2 separate regions of the Homo sapiens genome follow, and region 1 is linked to region 2. The links are contacts of gene promoters, found by promoter capture Hi-C in human tissues and cell types (Jung and others, 2019). All regions are on one chromosome and are shown on one strand. Each heading gives the region's core, a stretch centred on a gene start or on the middle of the fragment in contact. The rest is flanking DNA. Distances are from core to core; before and after follow the strand shown. Region 1 overlaps NIPSNAP1 (nipsnap homolog 1). Region 2 holds the start of RFPL1 (ret finger protein like 1).

Region 1 (3,897 bases), core at 106-2,605, 130 kb after region 2:
GACCTGGTTTCAAAAATAAATAAATAAATGAAAATTTAAAAATGAATAAAACTGAAAGGCCAGGCACGGTGGCTCATGTCTACAATCCTAGCACTTTGGGAGGCCGAGGAGGTAGGATCATTTGAGTTCAGGAATTCAAGACCAGCCTGGGCAACATGGAGAAACCCCGTCTCTACCAAAAAACACAAAAATTAGCCGAGCATGGTGGAGCGCACCTATAGTCCCAGCTACTCAGGAAGCTGAGGTGGGAGTACTGCTTGAGCCTGGGAAATTGAGGCTCGAGTGAGCCAAGATTATGCCACTGCACTCCAGCCTGTGTGACAGAGCAAGACCCTGTCTCAAAAAAAAAAAAAAAAAAAAAAAAGGCCGGGAGTGGTGGCTCACTCCTGTAATCCCAGCACTTTGGGAGGCCGAGGCAGGTGGATCACCTGAGGTCAGAAGTTCGAGACCAGCCTGACCAACATGTGAAACCCCATCTCTACTAAAGATACAAAATTAGCCAGGCCTGGTGGCACAGGCCAGTAATCCCAGCTACTCGGGAAGCTGAGGCAGGAGAATATCTTCAACTCAGGAGGTGGAGGTTGCAGTCAGCCAAGACTGTGCCACTATCTGCCAGCCTGGGTGACAGAGCGAGACCCTGTCTCAAAAAAGAAAAAAGAAAAAAAAAAAAAAGGCCGGGTGCGGTGGCTCACACCTGTAATCCCAGCACTTTGGGAGGCTGAGGCAGGTGGATCACCTGAGATCAGGAGTTCAAGACCAGCCTGACCAACATGGTGAAATCCCGTCTCTACTAAAAATACAAAATTAGCTGGGCGTGGTGGCACATGCCTGTAATCCCAGCTACTCAGGAGGCTGAGACAAGAGAATTGCTTAAACTGGGGAGGCGGAGGTTGCAGTGAGCCGAGATTGCACTACTGCACTCCAGCCTGGGGCAACAAGAGTGAAACTCAGTCTCGGAAAAAAAAAGAATAAAAGACAGTGATCCAGGTAAAGCAGGCAAACAAGAAATAATGCTTAAGGCAGAAGAAAGAGAATGAGCAGTAGTCTGGAACTAAAGAGTGAAACTGTCAATCTGAGGAACTGAGTCCTGGGTGGGACAGCACAGCGAGGCATGGAGGATTTGGTGCCATGAGGCTGGGGGCAGGGCCGGGAAGGAGTCACAGGCTTCACGGGTCACCTTGAGGGCACAGGGGAGCCAGGACAGGTATTTGAGCAGGGGAGTGAGGTGATGAGGTTTTAGTAAGAGCCCCACCAGGTGCTGTTGTGGAGAGGGAGTGGAGAACAGCCAGGTGTGAAAGGTGCTGGAGGCCAGGGCTGGGCAGTGGCAATGGCACTAGGGAGGTGAGCGCCTTACCTGCCTGGTCCTGCTCCCCATACCACGTGTTCCAGTTGCCCACGAGTGAGCATGGGTAGTCCTCATCCAGGTGAAGCTTGGGCAGCACAGCCTCCCTGTGGGGGAGGTGCAGAGAGGGGCAGGGTTCACATAGCCACCAGGGCCTCTGAGATAAGGGTTCAAACTCAGTTCAAACAGACCCTGGGGCTGGGCCTCAGACTCTCCATCTCTAAAATGCAGAAGCTAGGCAAGAGGCCCTCAGGACTTCCGACACTGAAATTTACATCCTGGCTGGGCACAGTGGCTCACACCTGTAATCCCAACACTGGGAGGCTGAGGCAGGAGGATTGCTTGAGCCCAGTAGTTTGAGACCAGCCTGGGAAGCAAAGTGAGATCCCATCTCTCTTTTTTGTGTGTGAGACAGAGTTTTGCTCTTGTTGCCCAGGCTGGAGTGCAATGGCGCAATCTCGGCTCACTGGAACCTCCGCCTCCTGGAGACCATCTCTTAAAAAAAAAAAAAAGAAAGAAAGAAAATGGGGCCAAACGCAGTGGCACATGCCTGTAATCCCAGCACTCGGAGGCCGAGGCAGGTGGATCACCTGAGGTCAGGAGTTTGCGACCAGCCGGACTAACATGGTGAAACCCTGTCTCTACTAAATACAAAAAAATTAGCCATGCTTAGCGGCGCATGCCTGTAATCCGAGCTACTTGGGAGGCTGGAACAGGAGAATCGCTTGTACCTGGGAGGCAGAGGTTGCAGTGAGCCGAGATCGCGCCATTGCACTCCAGCCTGGGCAACGAGAGCAAAACTCCATCTCAAAAAAAAAGAAAGAGAGAAAGAAAGAAAGAAAGAAAAAGGCAGAAATAAAAGAAATCTACATCTCCTGGATTTCTACAGAAAAGAACAGGGTGGAGGATGTTCCGCAAATTTGCTGAAAGTGTGTTCCCCACCCAAGCAGGGGATGGGATGTATGGATGCAGGGTGCTCACGTGAGGCTGTTGTAGGCATCCAGGTATTCAGGCTTTACATTGTGAACTGCAACAGAGGACAGAGAACAAGAAGTGAGGTAGGGTGTGTACACAGGGAAGAACTTGGGGTGAGGGGAGCCCATCAAGGCCAGGGGTCCCAGGACAGCTGAGGACATTCCAGACCCTCCCATCTCCTTCCTGGAGCCTCACAGGCCCCCAGAGCCCCTGAAAGGGCAGAAATTGGTCAGCTCAGCAGCCACTCACACTGGATCTTATAGAGGTTGCTGGTTTCCTTCTTGGACAGCAGGGTGGAGTGGGCATCCTTCCGGGGATCCACTTTGTGAACAAAGAGGGAGCGGAACCAGCTGCCTTCATTGTCCTTGGAATAGAAACTGCAGGACAGAGGAGTTGAGGGGGACGCGCGGAGGTTGGGGGAGCCCCAGCAATTCCATCCACTTGGATGTCCTGCTCCCCTAGACCAGTGACCCACATTTCTGGGAACAGGGCCACGGAGTCCTGTGGCAGCTCCAGACTGTGAAATGCTATTGGAGCCAGCTCCTTTCTACAGATATTCCAGCTGCCCAGTTGGCTTCTTGAAGCTTTGCAGAGCCTCAGGACGCCAGGAGAGGCAGCCCCACCTCCCACTTCTCTCTCTAGCCTCCCTGCCTCCACTTCATCCCCCTTCCAAGAGGTCCTCTACTTGGGTCATATAACTCCAGCCTCTCGCCAAGAGGATCAACCCCAAATCCACCTTGCATCATGCCCAAAGCCCTTGACAACCCAACCTAACTTGTCAGCCTCCCCTCCTGCCCCCTCACCTGTACACCTCACTCTCCAGGTGTGCTCTTCCCTGAACACACCAGGATCTGCTACTCTGTGCTTTCTGTACAAGTTCTGTCCCCTCTAACGAGAAGACTGCTCTCACCGTCCTCCCCAGCACTCTCACAGTGCACTTGGCCCATGTCCCCACCCTGACCCCACACATGGAAAGCCAAATACAAATAAGCTTTGTCCTTGAGGAGCTCATAGTCCACTAGGAGAAATGGGCCTTGGGACACAATTATAGGAGGGGTCTCTGGAAGAGCCCAGGTGAACTAGCCTTAACTCTGCTTCTGGCAACCTGGGCAGACTCTCTACAGAGGAGGAGATGAGCTGGTCAGTCCCCAGGACTGGTTTGGCAGATAGAGGGAGTAAAAGGCACTGCAAAGCAAGATGCATTCACTCATCCAGCCAACACCTGCTCTGCCCATCTCCATAGGATACTGAGAATGAATGAATGAATGATCAATGAATATGATTATGTGCTTTGCCCATGAGCACTGTGGTTAAGGGCAGTGGAGGGTCTGCTGCCAGCTCCTACTGGACCAGAACTGCACTCCCATCCTAAACACATACCCAAGGTCCCAGCAGGAGGCAGGGGTGCTTATTTTGAGACTACCAATCTTCCCGCTCCACAGCCTTGGTGCAGCTTGCAGCCAGGCCTGAAAAGGAAGTCTCCCAATGGAGACAATTCCTAGCCAGGGAGCCTGGCAAGAGGGATCCCTGAGTGGCAGCAAGCCTTATCCCTTTTTTCTTTTTTCTCTTTTGTTTTTTCC
Region 2 (3,942 bases), core at 15-2,514:
ATCATACTTAATACTTCAGGTTTCCAAGCAAAGCTTGAAGCCTACAACATATTACAGGAATTATCTTTACTGACAACTGATGGAAACATCTCTAAAATAAGCTTTTGAAGTTAGTACATTAAGCCTAATTTAATATAAAGGCAATTTAATCTTATCTTCATATGAAAGAAAAATACACTGTCAGGATGAAGGATTTACTAAAGTTACAATTAACTGGAGATATATCACCAGTAAAAACCTAATTCCCTGTTATAATTAAATCAAAGCCTCATTAGGTTAGAGGGTGTGGAAGGGCATGACCCAGTGGGAGGTGGGAATCTCACCAATAAAACGCCCTCATGTGCCCCTTCCGCACAAGACCTGAGCGCCCAGTGGAAGCAGCTGGAGGACAGAGGAGCTTCCAGCAGAAGAGGTGAGCCCATGCCTGTGTGTGTGTTTTTCCTCCTTAGATGCCTAGAAATGGGGGTTATGCCTTGGGGGATGAATGAGAGAAATTCGTAATTAATGAATTCAACAAAGGCTGTCTGAGTGCTGCCTCAGAGTTGAAAACCAGTCACCCTGGATCCCCAGATCTCCAGTCTAGGAGTGGTGGCAGTCAATTTGGTATTCATTTCCAAGGCTGGAGAAGGATGTGATTTTTTTTTTTTTTTTTTTGGTGAGACAGGGTCTTAACTCTGTTGTCCAGGTTGGAGTGACCTGGTGTGATCTCTGCTCACTGCTAATTTTTCTATTATTTGTAGAGAGGGGGTCTTCCTGTGTTGCCCAGGCTGATCTCAAACTCCTTGGCTCAAGGGATCTTCCAGCCTTGGCCTCGCAAAGTGCTGGGATTACAGATGTGAGCTACTGCATCCAGTCCCTCTCTTTTTTTTTTTTTTTTTTTTTGAGATGGTGTCTCACTCTGTTGTCCAGGCCGGAGTGCAATGGCTGGATCTTGGCTCACTGCAACCTTTGCCTCCCAGGTTCAAGCAATTCTCCTGCCTCAGCCTCCCAAGTATCTGGGATTACAGGCGTGTGCCACCACGCCTGGCTAATTCTTTTGTATTTTCAGTAGAGATGGGGTTTCACCCATCAGGCTGGTCTCGAACTTTTGACGACCTCAGATGATCCACTCACGTCAGCCTCCCAAAGTGCTGGGATTATAGGCCTGAGCCACCACGCCCGGCCTCCCAGCCCCTAATTCTTATGTTCATCAATCAATCTCTTGCTGGGGTTCCCCTAGGAGGAGGTGAAATGACCCCAGCTCGCTGTTCCTCACATGGGTGCTGCCGTGTCACTGGCTCAGGCTCAGTTGCTGGGTCACCAGTAGAATGGACCCTTCCTCCACCTCAGTTCAGAGCACAGTGATGATTCGTGACTTTCTTTCCCAATAGAACTTCAAATCTCTGAAGACGGGGGGTGGGGGGATGTGCTTGAGTGTTTGTACTCATGGTCTTGTTCTAGAAGTGACAAAGCTGGGACACAATACCTTTATGCATGAAAAGGTTGTCACTTGTCACAACTAACAGGCTTTCACCTCACGGAAATTTTCTTCCCTTGTGCACTTTTCCCCTGGCAGTGGACATGGCTGCACTCTTCCAAGAAGCAAGCAGCTGTCCCGTCTGCTCAGACTATCTAGAGAAACCAATGTCCCTGGAGTGTGGATGCGCTGTCTGCTTCAAGTGCATCAATTCACTGCAGAAGGAGCCCCATGGGGAGGATCTACTTTGCTGTTGCTGTTCCATGGTCTCTCAGAAGAACAAAATCAGGCCCAGTTGGCAGCTAGAGAGGCTGGCTTCCCACATCAAGGAACTGGAGCCCAAGCTGAAGAAGATTCTGCAGATGAACCCAAGGATGCGGAAGTTCCAAGGTGAGGGATCTGTATACACTGCCCCCTTCCTACGACCAGACCAGGAAAAATCATCTGTGCAACTGGCCCCTCATTCCATATGGGGATTAGCTGCTGTCTGGCACCTAAAATTGAGATGCTTCTTCATCATCAGATTCTCAGCCCTGACAACATACAGAATCACCTGGTGATCTCCAAAAAAAAGGCTGGCTGGGCATGGTGGCTCATGCCTGTAATGTCAGCACTTTGGGAGGCCGAGGCGGGTGGATCACGAGGTCAGGAGATCGGGACCATCCTGGATAACACGGTGAAACCCTGTCTCTACTAAAAATACAAAAAATTAGCCAGGCTTGGTGGTGGGTGCCTGTAGTCCCAGCTACTTGGGGGTTGAGGCAGGAGAATGGCGTTAACCTGGGGGGGGCGGAGCTTGCAGTGAGCCAAGATTGCACCACTGCACTCCAGCCTGGGTGACAGAGTGAGACTCCGTCTCAAAAAAAAAAACCTGATGTCTATGTCATGGGTTAGACAAGGGATTCTCTAAACTTAGTGTGCTCAGATTACCTGGGGATCTTGTTAAAATGCAGATGCTGAACTGGGAAGTCTCAGGATTGATCCCGCTGGCTTGGGGACTTTGCTGAGTAGCAAAAACACAGAGCAACTTAATTTGAATTTCTCTCTAGCAAAGGTTCCCAGGACTCTGACATTTAAATGGGCCTGGTAATTCTAATGCACAGTGAGTATTGGCACCCACTGTACCAAACAACCTCACCCCAGGGTTGGGAAGAGTTTGGAATGGAGCACCTATGGTGTTTGTTTCTGTGAGTGGGGCGAGTTGCAGACGCTGGTCTCCTCATCGGTGTGCCATGGACTTCAACAGGGGTCCTGGCTACAGAAAATACTATCACTCTCCATAACTCTGGGGAATAGGGACATTTAAATGAAGAGGTTATGGTCAGCCTGGGCAAAGAATTACACCTATAAATGGTGGTGGCTTCTGCCCTGACACCCATGATCTCTACTCATCCACCTACCCATACCTGACTGTGTCTCTGCTGAAATATGGAGGACAGATTCACCCTGCCTAAGTCATGTTTGGAACCCTCTTCCTCCTTCCTTGTCCATGTCCACTCATCTCATTTCATTCCCTAATTCACCATCAAACAGCAATCAGTCTCCTCAAGTCTTACTGTAATCTATAAAATCTATATTGGTGATCATCAGTTTTTTGACTTGAAGGATCATATGTTCTGTAGATTTTTTTTTCAGAATGCTCTGGACAATTAATTTTCTTTAGGCCAGATCACACTGCCTCCTCCATGAGAATTGGCAGCTTCACCTATCAACCACATACCCAATGCATTAAATTATTGACCTTTGTATTTACTGCCCTTATTCTCTACGATCAGTCAGTTATGACGAACAACTTTCTTTTTTTTTTTATTTTTTGAGATGGAGTCTCGCTCTGCCGCCTAGGCTGGAGGTGCAGTGGCATGATCTCTGCTCATTGCAAGCTCCGCCTCCTGGGTTCATGCCATTCTCCTGCCTCAGTCTACCGAGTAGCTAGGACTACAGGCACCCGCCACCATGTCCGGCTAATTTTTTTGTATGTTTTTTAGTAGAGACAGGGTTTCACGTGTTAGCCAGGATGGTCTCGATCTCCTGACCTCGTGATCCACCCGTCTCGGCCTCCCAAAGTGCTGGGATTACAGGTGTGAGCCACCGCGCTCAGCCAACAAACAACTTTCAAATACCTTTCTCTTCACTCCAAAATTTACCATTGTTTTGCTTAAGGTTTCACCTCCCATGTAGGATGGAAAACATTCTTTCATCTAAGGCCCCCCTCTTCCTCCTGGCCTTGGAGCCTCCTAATGTCCAGGACCGGCACCTCTGTCATCACATTGTCAGCTGCAGAGATACCCTACCTGCTGTCAGAACCATGCACAATTAATTTGCTTACAAACATGGAAAACAAAGGCCTGGAATCATGCTCTATATACTGAGTTGAGCAATACAAGATGGAAGCAGAAACATATTTAACATCGACCATTTGCATTGTCTTAATTATCATTCATTTTTTCATGCATCAAGGTGGTAGAAAGGGGGTCATGGTGTCTGCC

What was found. Contacts are between HindIII fragments. The study calls those that stand out against the background at their distance.
Region 1: a fragment that was not itself captured here is called in contact with the fragment with the promoter of RFPL1 in region 2 in 3 of the 25 tissues and cell types used here (mesenchymal stem cells, spleen and thymus).

What each region holds. Positions count from the first base shown.
Region 1 is chr22:29,567,839-29,571,735 of GRCh38, forward strand. NIPSNAP1 (nipsnap homolog 1) reads right to left here. Exons shown (of 10, transcript NM_003634.4): 2 at 2,567-2,694; 3 at 2,324-2,369; 4 at 1,355-1,449. Among named protein-coding and RNA genes, the nearest start is that of NIPSNAP1, 11 kb to the right of the region's middle. RefSeq lists an enhancer at 1,342-1,636 and a silencer at 3,102-3,396. The HindIII fragment of the contact is 3,498 bases long and covers 1-3,104 here.
Region 2 is chr22:29,437,319-29,441,260 of GRCh38, forward strand. RFPL1 (ret finger protein like 1) reads left to right here and starts at 1,265. Exons shown (of 2, transcript NM_021026.2): 1 at 1,265-1,846. The coding sequence starts at 1,474. It overlaps RFPL1S (RFPL1 antisense RNA 1), which reads right to left. Exons shown (of 1, transcript NR_002727.2): 1 at 1-3,942. The HindIII fragment of the contact is 25,280 bases long and covers 1-3,942 here.